Linked DNA regions of Homo sapiens: all the other regions are linked to region 4. The links are contacts of gene promoters, found by promoter capture Hi-C in blood cells and fetal thymus (Javierre and others, 2016). All regions are on one chromosome and are shown on one strand. The core of a region is centred on a gene start or on the middle of the fragment in contact, and the rest is flanking DNA. Distances in the headings are between cores, read along the strand shown. Region 1 has its middle 2.7 kb from the start of TMEM65. Region 2 has its middle 8.7 kb from the start of TYW2. Region 3 has its middle 30 kb from the start of TMEM65. Region 4 holds the start of FER1L6 (fer-1 like family member 6).

Evidence for each region. Contacts are between HindIII fragments. The CHiCAGO score rates a contact against its expected background, and 5 or more counts as called.
Region 1: a contact is called between a fragment that was not itself captured here and the fragment with the promoter of FER1L6 in region 4, in 1 of 17 cell types (M2 macrophages). The highest score is 9.1, in M2 macrophages.
Region 2: a fragment that was not itself captured here is called in contact with the fragment with the promoter of FER1L6 in region 4 in 1 of 17 cell types (M1 macrophages); the score reaches 5.8 in M1 macrophages.
Region 3: a fragment that was not itself captured here is called in contact with the fragment with the promoter of FER1L6 in region 4 in 10 of 17 cell types (fetal thymus, M0 macrophages, total CD4 T cells and 7 more); the score reaches 8.8 in fetal thymus.

The regions. Positions count from the first base shown.
Region 1 is chr8:124,374,033-124,376,732 of GRCh38, forward strand. No RefSeq gene overlaps it. Among named protein-coding and RNA genes, the nearest start is that of TMEM65, 2.7 kb to the left of the region's middle. The HindIII fragment of the contact is 601 bases long and covers 1,017-1,617 here.
Region 2 is chr8:124,440,788-124,443,487 of GRCh38, forward strand. No RefSeq gene overlaps it. Among named protein-coding and RNA genes, the nearest start is that of TYW2, 8.7 kb to the right of the region's middle. RefSeq lists an enhancer at 1-42. The HindIII fragment of the contact is 6,278 bases long and covers 1-2,700 here.
Region 3 is chr8:124,401,423-124,404,122 of GRCh38, forward strand. No RefSeq gene overlaps it. Among named protein-coding and RNA genes, the nearest start is that of TMEM65, 30 kb to the left of the region's middle. The HindIII fragment of the contact is 1,119 bases long and covers 840-1,958 here.
Region 4 is chr8:123,850,540-123,853,239 of GRCh38, forward strand. It overlaps FER1L6 (fer-1 like family member 6), which reads left to right and starts at 1,448. Exons shown (of 41, transcript NM_001039112.2): 1 at 1,448-1,646. RefSeq lists a silencer at 1,012-1,160. The HindIII fragment of the contact is 9,737 bases long and covers 1-2,700 here.

The DNA of each region.
Region 1 (2,700 bases), core at 67-2,566, 520 kb after region 4:
AGTGTGCACTGGAATCCTCTGCAGAGCTATTTCAGTCTCAGGCTCATGGGAGTACCACCCCATCCCCCCCACAATTTCCTACCCCCAAGATATTCTGATTCACTGGGGTGGATCACAGGCCCCAGACCTGGGAAGTGAGGTTTGAAAAAAGTTCTTCAGTAAGAACCCATTCCCAACCACCTCCAGAATAGTAGTTTAGTGTGTAGCCTCCAGAGACAGACTGTGGAAAGTTCGATCCCTGGATCAACCGTCTCCTAACTATGTGTTAGTATTAGATTGTTATAGTAGTGATCCCCAATGAACTACACCTTCTATTATCCGCTCCGTTGTGTGGTCCACCTCTACATTGACTGTGGGCTTGGCTATTTGACTTGTTTTGGTCAATAAATAGGAGGACATCATAAACGTGATATGATACATGTTTGCTCATTGGGGTTTGCTGTAATGCTTTTGCTATATTACTATAGAATATTTAATTCTATTATAAAACAAGAGAAACTAAAATGTAGAAGCAAGTCACTTATGAGAAAGGTTACACATAGAATGAATGGATATGGGTTGAACATAGATAAAAAGGATGGAACAAATGAAAATGCTGCTTTAGATAGAGGCAGAAAGACAAAGTGGACTTTTAAGTATTAATAAGGTACAGATCATACTATCTTCAGATTTACAGCCATGTCATCCCTAAATTGCATACCTACTGGTAACACCCATTGTAACGCTATTATGGCCTCATGTAATCTCTTCCCAAGAAAAGCAGATAAACCCCCAGCTACAAAGCCAACTAATGCCAGCTACCATTATAACCAGACACACTTGCCCCTCAGCTCTGTAACAGAACAGACATATGTTGAGCCCAGGCCCCTTCAGTCTGTTGAGTCACCTTACTTACTCTCCAGTCTGGTCCTTGTAGCCACACTATGTGCTGAGAAGACTGGATGGTGGAGAGGGATAAGACATGAGAACATTGCATAAAACAGAATTTAGGTGCTATGGTCCTTCAGCCTATCCTAAGCTTATTAATCTACCCTATCTCTTTCCCCTTGCTTCTCACTCTGTTTTATGTTGGTTGGTAAACTCTTCTGGTTATTATTGCTGCTCTTTGGGTAGACACATTATGCCAAAACTTAGTAGTTTAATTAGCCAATTTATTTTGCTCTTAATTTTGAGGCTCAGAAATTGGGGAAGAACTTACTTGGACAGTTATTTTATTGGAGTCGTTTATGTAGTATCAATCAGATTTCAACACAACTGCTGTCATTTGAAAGTTCAGCTGGGCTGAATAGCTAAGATGGCTCACTGACATGGCTGACTGGTAGCTCAAATGGGGCTGAGAACCAGAGCACTTTCACACAGCCACTCCAGCATGGTGATCTTCTCACCAGACAGCTGGCTTTCCCCAGAGTGAATGTCTAAAAAGAAGCAGGCTTGTGGCGTTTTCTGACCTATCCTTGGAAGTCACACAGTATCACTTCCACTGTATTCTACTGGCTATAAGCCAACCCCTAGGGCCAGCCCCTATTCAAGGGAAAGGGATATAAACCCCACATCTTAATAGGAGTAATGCCAAAACCTTTGAGGATACGTTTTAGAACCACCAGATAATGTGATTTAAGCTTCTTAATTTGGCCTATAAGCCTATCTATTTCGTGACCTGTAGGTGTATACATGGAGGCTGCCATTGCATCAAGGTAATTTTCCACATGGAAAAATTGCCTCGAAGACATTTACCTTTTGGAATCCAGCTGCTGCATAAAGAAGTCTGATGTATCCTGCTGGAAAGACCAAATGGAGGAGGAGGCCGTAGCCAACAGCCCCAGCTAACTGCCAAACATGCATGACAGCATCTTGGACCATCCAGGCTCAATTGAGCCCCAGATGACAGCATTGGGGTTGAGAGCACTAGCTCTAGACTCAGACTGCCTGGATTTGAGTCCTTATACTGTCATTTCTTAGCTGTGTAACCTTGAGCTGATCAACCTTTCCGTGGTTGCCCATCTGTTTAATGGGAATAAGAACATGTTCAGTTTGCTCACCTGTTAAATATAGATAAGGGCATCTGCTTTGTAATGTTATAGTGAAACCAAATAATACATGTAAAGCATTTCAAACAGCACCTGATACATGACAAGCATGCAATAAATACTAGCTATTATTATCTAAATGCCCACGGACCTCTCAAATCTCTACGATTATGTCTTTGGACCCTCATTTGAGAAATGCCCACCTAGCTATCTGTCATTTAATACATGGATGTGTATTAACTGCATCCCCTAACCACTTCCTTCTCTGAACACCTGAATATCCTAAATATGAATGGATGAAGGATCTAGGGAGGGAGATAATTTGGGGATCGTTTATGGGGCTGTGGAGCAGGTCTAGATGCAGGTGGCAAAGGGGAGTTTCCGAAGAAATATGATGGTGCTGAAGAGGAAATGCTAGCAGGCTGGAGGGGCTACAGAAATGGAAGATAGAAGGAAGGAAAGCCCAGAAGGCAAACTTGGCCTGAGTTCAGCCCAGCCTGTTCTTCGCTTTTAAAGAGGACAACTGTCATACCTCGGTTAACAATCACAGTTTCCTCCTCATGAAAAATTGCTGCTGAATCATCAGTCCATGGTAAGCTGCATCATATAAATACGCTCCAGAGTTCCTGGCTTCCCTGTTGCTGGCAGGGCACACAGCTGTTTGCTGCCTGCC
Region 2 (2,700 bases), core at 85-2,584, 590 kb after region 4:
GATAAAAGGCCAGATATCTCCAGCTGCTGGTTGTCCACCTTATCTTATCAAGTGCCGATTTACTGAGCATGAGACAAATACATAACTGACTATTCCCCTACCTGTTCCTTGTCTCTTGCAACATGTGGATTCTGTGATGTGACTGGACCTTCCCTCTTTCCAGCCTGCTTTTCCCCTTTAGATATTGAAGCCCACAAAATCATCTTTGGAGAAAGGCACAGATCGCAGACTGTTTCTGTGGTTTCTATATTCCCTTCTTCTGGCGTGTGCCTTACATTGGCTTCTAAACTTTACAAACTTCTAAATTGACTGAGACTTGTGTCAGACATATTTTGGTTGACAAATTGGCATCCAACAGAAGGGACTCTGAGTGGAGGTGGTCCTGACTGTTGAGAAATCTGACTTTGGTGCTTGGTACCAGCCCGGGCTACTTTTATTGCTCAAACTGTTACAGGAAAGGGGTCTGGAGCCAGACCACAGAGTGAGTTCTTGGATCTCTGACAGGAAAGAATTCTGGGCCAGTCACAGAGCACAGTGAAAAAAGCAAGTTTATTAAAGACTACTCTATTACAGAGTAGGGCATCCTCAGAACTAACAACAAGAGGAGGCCAGGCACCGTAGCTCACACCTATAATCCCAGCACTTTGGAAGATGAGGTGTGACAACTGCTTGAGACCAGGTGTTCAAGACCAGCCTGGACAACATAATGAGACTCCATCTCTACTAAAAATAAAAAAAATTTGCCCTGCATGGTAGCATACCTGCAGTCCCAACTGCTAGAGAGACTAGGCAGTAGGATCTCATGAGTCTGGGATGTCAACGCTGCAGTGAGCCATTATTGTGCCACTGCACTCCTGCCTGGGTGACAGATAAGGCTTGTCTTGAAAGAAAAAAAAAAGGAAAAGAAAAAAAAAAGCAAGAGTAGGACTCTGAACACAAATAAAATGCTATATAATAAGGGAGCTGGCCAGGCATGGTGGCTCACACCTGTAATCCCAACACTTTGGGAGGCCAGGGAGGCTGGATCACTTGAGGTCAGGAGTTCAAGGCCAGCCTGGCCAACACGGTGAAACCCTGTCTCCATCAAAAATATAAAATATTAGCCAGGTGTGGTGGCGTGCACCCATAATCCCAGCTACTAAGGAGGCTGAGGCAGAAGAATCATTTGAACCTGGGAGGCAGAGGTTGCAGTGAACAGAGATCATGCCACTGCACTACAGCCTGGGTAACAAAGCGAGACTCTGTCTCAAAAAAAAAAAAAAAAAAAAAAAACAAGAAGAAGAAAGCAAGCTAAGAATAATAATGAACTTATGTGCTTTATTATAAAGGCTTGTGACCAGCTTGTGACAGGCTGATGTTATCCTCTTGTGTAACTATTGAGTTCAGCAGGAATTTAGGGATATACTATTACCTATTAGTATAAGAAACCTATTATCTATTAATATAAGAAGCCTATTCTTAGACTAAGAATACTTTTTGGTCTTGAGATATCAGGACTTCAAGACTTTCTGTTAAGTTCTGGGTCTTGTTTACTTATCATTAACTCATTCTCTCAACCATAAAGGTCCTGTGAAGGAGAGTGCCTAGCTTCCTGGGAATGGAATCCAGCAGGTTTCACTTCATTTGGCCTTATTCAAGACGGAGTCACTCTGGTTTGGACACCTCTGATATATTTTCCTCCTCCCTTTTATAAGGGGATCCTTAATTCTAAGGGGTACAGAGGGACAGAGGTCCATCTTCATAAATGTCTTCAAGGTGAACAGGAGCAATGATATTCCTCCCTAACCACTGGGATCCCTTGTATTTAGATTGGAGAGGAGTTCACTCAGCAAGTGTTGGCGTGGTGAGGACCAATCATTATTGTGACTTTCAACAAAAGGTGAAATCTGGAAAATTAGTAAGTGTTCAATTTAAAGAAGCTATTTAATAGGTTTACCTTGTTTTCTTTTCTTTTCTTTTTTTTTTTTTTTTTTTTTTTTTGACGGCATTTTGCTCTTGTTGCACAGGCTGGAGTGCAATGGCATGATCTCGGCTCACTGCAACCTCCGCCTCCCAGGTTCAAGCGAGTCTCCTGCCTCAGCCTCTTGAGTAGCTGGGATTACAGCTGTGTCCCACTATGCCCTGCTAATTTTGTATTTTTAGTAGAGATGGAGTTTCACTACGTTGGCCAGGCTGGTCTTAAAACTCCTGACCTCAGGTGATCCGCTTGCCTCGGCTTCCCAAAGTGCTGGGATTACTGGTGTGAGCCACTGTGCCTGGCTAGGTTTACCTTGTTTTCTTGCACAAAAATTACAACAGCAATACATTCCACAGCAACAAAACAGAATCTGTTCCAAGCATCTGAACAAAAAGGTTTTCCATGAACCAGACAATTGCTGGAACCACCCTGATATGGGGTCAACTGACAGTGTGTTAATGGCAGAGATATGGGTGTCTAAGTCCTTCATGGCCTGAGTAATATTATGTTAATATTATGGAATATACAAACAACATTCCATTTTGATGATAGCACAAGATCTCCCTTGAGCCGCTGTTAAAATGTCCAAAGCCATGCAGTTTCGTAAGGCTACCTGTCTAATTTGAGAAGTCTCTTCAGTTAGTAGGATAATGGCATGCTGTGTAGTATTGAAAGCTGTAGCTGTATGTTGGAATACAGATTCAACTTGCCACTTGACATCCATTACAGCCACCTCTGACAGT
Region 3 (2,700 bases), core at 149-2,648, 550 kb after region 4:
CTCCTGGCTCACTGGACTTCCCCCACCCACCAAATCATGCTTAAAAACTCTGCTCTGTAGGGCAGGTGCAGTGGCTCACGCCTGTAATCCCAGGACTTTGGGAGGCCGAGGCGGGCGGATCACGAGGTCAAGTGATCAAGACCATCCTGGCCAACGTGGTGAAACTTCACCTCTACTAAAAATACAAAAATTAGCTGGGCGTGTTGGCAGGCATGTACTCCCAGCTACTTGGGAGGCTGAGGCAGGAGAATCACTTGAACCCAGGAGGCAGAGGTTGCAGTGAGCCAAGATCGCACCACTGCACTCCAGCCTGGGGAAAGAGCAATACTTTGTCTCAAAAAAATAAAAATAAAATAAAACCTCTGCTCCCCAAATAAATGCTTGAGAGACTGACTTGAGTAATAATAAAACTGGTCTCCCGCATAGCCAGCTCTGTGTGAATTACTCTTTCTCTATTGCAATTCCCCTGTCTTGATGAATTGGCTCTGTCTAGGCAGGAGGCAAGGTGAACCCCTTGGGTGGTTACAACTCTATGTGCTATACTTTTCTATGACTGGCAGTGCAGTAGCTTTGTTTATACCAGCATCACTACAAACACATGAGTAATGCTTCGTGCTGTGAGGTTACAATGTCTGCAACATCACCAGGCAATAAGAATTTTTCAGCTTATAGGTTAGATGATAAAGATTATAATCTTTCAGGACCACCAGCACATATATATGTGGTCCATTGTTGACTGGAATGTCATTGTGTGGCACATGACTGTACTTAAATTAGATAATGTATATGAAGAGTTTTTCATAATGCCTGGAGTACATCATATAAATTCAATAAGTGAAAGCTTTATTTTGAGTGGTTACATCTCTATTACAAAGTTGCCAAGAACATTAGCTTTGGAATTAAAGAGAGCTGCAGAGTTCTTATTATGAAAAAAATGAGGGTTATTTGTTGAAAGGCTCATAACACTTTGAGCTGAAGGTAGAGAACAGATGTAGGCTCTCAAAAAGAATGTGGCTAATTGAAGTTGTGCTTGCTTGAATCTTCCTCATCTCTTCAGACACCTCAGGACTCCTCAATCCTGAAGCTATTTCCATCAGAGTCTCTGCTTTACCATTTGGAAAGCCTTTTTTTTTTTTTTTTTTTTTTTTTTTTTTGAGACAGAGTCTGGCTCTGTTGCCCAGGCTGGAGTGCAGTGGCACAATCTTGGCTCACTGAACCTCCACCTCCTGGGTTCAAGTAATTCTTGTGTCTCAGCCTCCCGAGTAGCTGGGGTTACAAGTACACACCACCATGCCTGGCTAATTTTTTGTATTTTAGTAGAGATGGGGTTTCACCATGTTGCCCAGGCTGGTCTCGAACTCCTGAGCTCAGACAATCCACCCTCCTTGGCCTCCCAAAGCGCTAGGATTACAGGCGTGAGCCACCACACCCAGCCCGGAAAGACTTTCAAAGGCTACCATTAATCAGTAAGTGGTTCAAGAGAGGGAGAGCTCTACTTTTTCCCTCTACTACTTCTCAATTGCTCTATCACTTCTCAGTTAAATGATTAGATAATTAGATTTGCTGATCAATTTCAGAGAAATAGCTAACAGTTAGAATTCCATGCATGGCATATACTGTGCTAGGTATTTTGTATTCTTCATCTCACTTATTCTGTTAGCCTTGAAAAGTGGCTTTTGGTGTCTCCAATTTATAGATAATATTTAACAGTAATAACAGTGATTATAACTCACCATTATTGAGTGCTTACCATGATTCAGTTACAGTTTTAAACCCTCAATACAGATAATGTCTCTTTATCTTCATTAATAACTCTATCAGGGAGGAACTATTTTTAATCCCCATTTTTTAGATAAAAACTAAAGGTGCAGACATATTCAGTAATTTGCCCAAGGTCACACAACTAATAAATGATGGACAGGATTCAAACCTCTGGTCTCTATGGCTCCAGAGTTCAAAGCTTTTTCTCCTCAAAAGCCCAACAAATTCAAGCATTGACATATTTTTACAGCTGAGAGACAATGAGTCATTGCAACCTTTCTGCATGAGTTTCAAGTTTTCTCAAAATCAAAAATCTGTTTATCCTCTTCATAGCTCCAGTAGCAACTTCCCTCAATAAATTATCTGTTGCCTGACTAGCTCCATGTCTAATGACTTTATTATGCTCCAGTTTGAATTTCCTATTCTCACTACCCTTCTTAATCATCCAAAATAATTTGTTCATGCAATGTTGTCCCTGAAGCATTAGAAAATATATCATTTGAGGAAAAGTTCTGTAACATAAATGCACTAAATACGAGGTCCATTAAGACCAATGACAGCGTGGTGGCTCATGTCTGTATTGCCAGTACTTTGGGAGGCTGAGGCGGGTGGATCACCTGAGGTCAGGAGTTCAAGAGCAGCCTGGCCAACATGTTGAAACCCCGTCTCTACTGAAAATACAAAAATTAGCTGGGTGTGCTGGCACATGCCTGTAATCCCAGCCACTTGGGAGGCTGAGGCAGGAGAATCGCTTGAACCCAGGAGGTGGAGTTTGCAGTGAGCTGAGGTCGCGCCACTGCACTCCAGCCTGGGCAACAGAGGGAGTCTCTGTCTCAAAAAAAAAAAAAAATTAGCCAGGTATGGTGGTGTACGCCTGTAATCCCATCTACTCGAGAGGCTGAGGCAGGAGAATTGCTTGAATCCAGGAGACGGAGGTTG
Region 4 (2,700 bases), core at 198-2,697:
TCTCCTGAGCAGCTGGGATTACAGGTGCCTGCCATCATGGCTGGCTAATTTTTGTATTTTTAGTAGAGATGGGGTTTCACCATCTTGGCCAGGCTGGTCTTGAACTCCTGACCTCATGATCTAACTCAGCCTCCCAAAGTGCTGGTATTACAGGTGTGAGCCACCGTGCCCAGCCGAGGCAACCATTATTTTGACTTTTATCACCTTTTGTGTATCTTTGAGTTTCATATATGTGGAATGATACAATTTGTACTCTTGTGTCTGGTTCCTTCCCTCATCAGTTTGTGAGACTAGTTCATGTTGTTGCTCATGGTCATAGTTTTTTTTTGTTTCTGTGTGATATTCCATTGTGAAAATATACTGAAATTTAGTTATCCTTTTTATGGCTGTTGGATATTTAGGTTGTTTTCAACTTTTGCGTATTATGAATATAGCCGCTATGAACATACTTGTGTTCTCAACTGGCCCTGGAATTCTTCTGTTTGCTAAAGTACCCCCAGGAAGTGTGTGCTAGAAGAAAAGGTTTGGGGAACTTGTGTTTTTGCATAACAATTCTTAATAAGAAAGTGCAAGAAATGTCGATCATTTCCCCGGGGGAGCAGGAGGGGAGAGGGAATGGTGATGGCTGTAGGTCTACTGGGCGCTGGAACCTCCACCAAATCTCCAGGGAATTTCTAGAGTCACGAAATGTTCTGTGTGAGGCAATGTACATATATGTACACAAATATGTTCACCACAAAATAAACTCATGACAATAACAGTCCTCATTTCTGTAACTGGGCACATGGTTGTACCTGATACTTAGAACTACCTTCTGCTACCCATTCTGAATTCCCTTTGTACTTGGCAAACCTTTCAGCTGGTTGAGGTTCTTTACCTGGTAGGATGACCCAAACCTTCATTCCTGAAGGGTCTGGGCCATTAGTAGTCCTGCGTGAATTGGATTATTGTAGTTTTCCATGAATTTAATCACAAATTTTAATCACAGGGTATGGTAATACTAAGAGATGCCCTAAGGGATCTCCTGTATTCCAGACATATTCTTTCTTGCCTCCATTGTGGAATAGTAGCACATTTTCCCCTTGGTAGTCAGGATCAGTCGCCCTAGACAACACCAAAACTTTGCCTGTCAATTCAGAGGTATGAGGAGCCCAAAGTGGCTGGCTGTGGCCTTAACTTTCAGTGCAATGGAATCACTGTTGTATCTGCTAGTGGAAGCATTCTTTTTTGGAACTAAGATCTCTAGGCTAACAGGATAATAAAGGAACAAGAGGCAAAAATTTTGCTAGTGAGTCATTAGGGGTAATAGCAAGTGGTGCCATCCCATTTTTACCCCTTGATCTCTGGACCCATGAGTCCTGACTAGCACCTGACTGGATGCTGATTCAAAGAATACACAGCTTTCTGTGGAATCTTGCCCCACTTCTGTAAAGTACTGTCACCTAGTTGGTGAGGTTGCCTGTAACTGACTTCAAAAGGCCATTCCACCATTCCGTCAAGCCAGCTGCTTTAGAACGGTTGGGAACACCGTGAGACCAGTGAATTCCACGAGCACGAACCCACTGCTGCGCTTCATTTGCTGTGAAGTGAGTCCCTTGATCAGAGCAATGCTGTGTGGACCATCGTGAAGGTGGACAAGGCATTTTGTAAGTCCATAGATAATAGATTCTACAGAAGCATTGTGTGCAGGGAAGGCAAGTTCATATCCAGAGCAAATGTGTATTCCAGTAAGGACAAAATGCTTCCCCTCCCTTCCACAATGGAAGCAGTCCAATGTAATCAACCTGCCTCCAGGTAGCTGGCTGGTCACCCCAGGGAATGGTGCCATATATTGGGGACTCAGCATTGGTCTCTGCTGTTGGCAGATTGGGTACTCAGTGGTCGCTGTAGCCAGGTTGACCTTGTTGCTTGAACTCCATGTTGTGAGCATGCGTGTGTGTGTGTGTGTGTGTGTGTGTGTGTGTGTGTGTGTGTTTGACAGAGACAGAGGGAGGAGAAAGAAGAGAGACTGGTAAAATTTTGGGGGATTATAGAGACAAAAAGCATGAGGAAGTTGCCTCAGGAACTCATAGAAAATGTGGGGCCTCTCACAAGATTGTTAGACTTTTAAAACATAAATTTTTATTTTACAGAAAAGTTGCAAAGATAATTGAGTTCTCTTAAATTTCTCACTCAGTTTTCCCTAATGGTAACATCTTATATTACCATGGTACATTTATGAAAATGAAGAAACTGAAAATGCAGCATTACTATTAACTAAGCTCCACGCTTTATTTGGATTTCACAAGTTTTTCCACGAATGTCTTTTTCTGTTCTAGGAGCCAGTCCAGAATCCCACATTGTAATTTTTGGAGATGGATTTTGAGGCAAATGTAATCATCCCTAAGGTTATATATCATATATCATATATGAAATATGTATTAGATATAGATGTATTCTATGTGTCTATTTAGCTACCTATCAGATCAATTTTATTCTTATTTTTGTAGAGACGGGGCCTCGCTATGTTGCTCAGGTTGGTCTCAAACTCCTGGGCTCAAGCGATCCTCCTGCCTCAGCCTTCCAAAGTGCTCGGATTACGTGCGTGAGCCACTGTGCCCACCCTCAGACTTTAAAATAGACGAAATCTTTTTTTGAGACAGTCTCACTCTATAGCCCAGGCTGGAGTGCAGTGGTACAATCTTGGCTCACTGCAGCCGC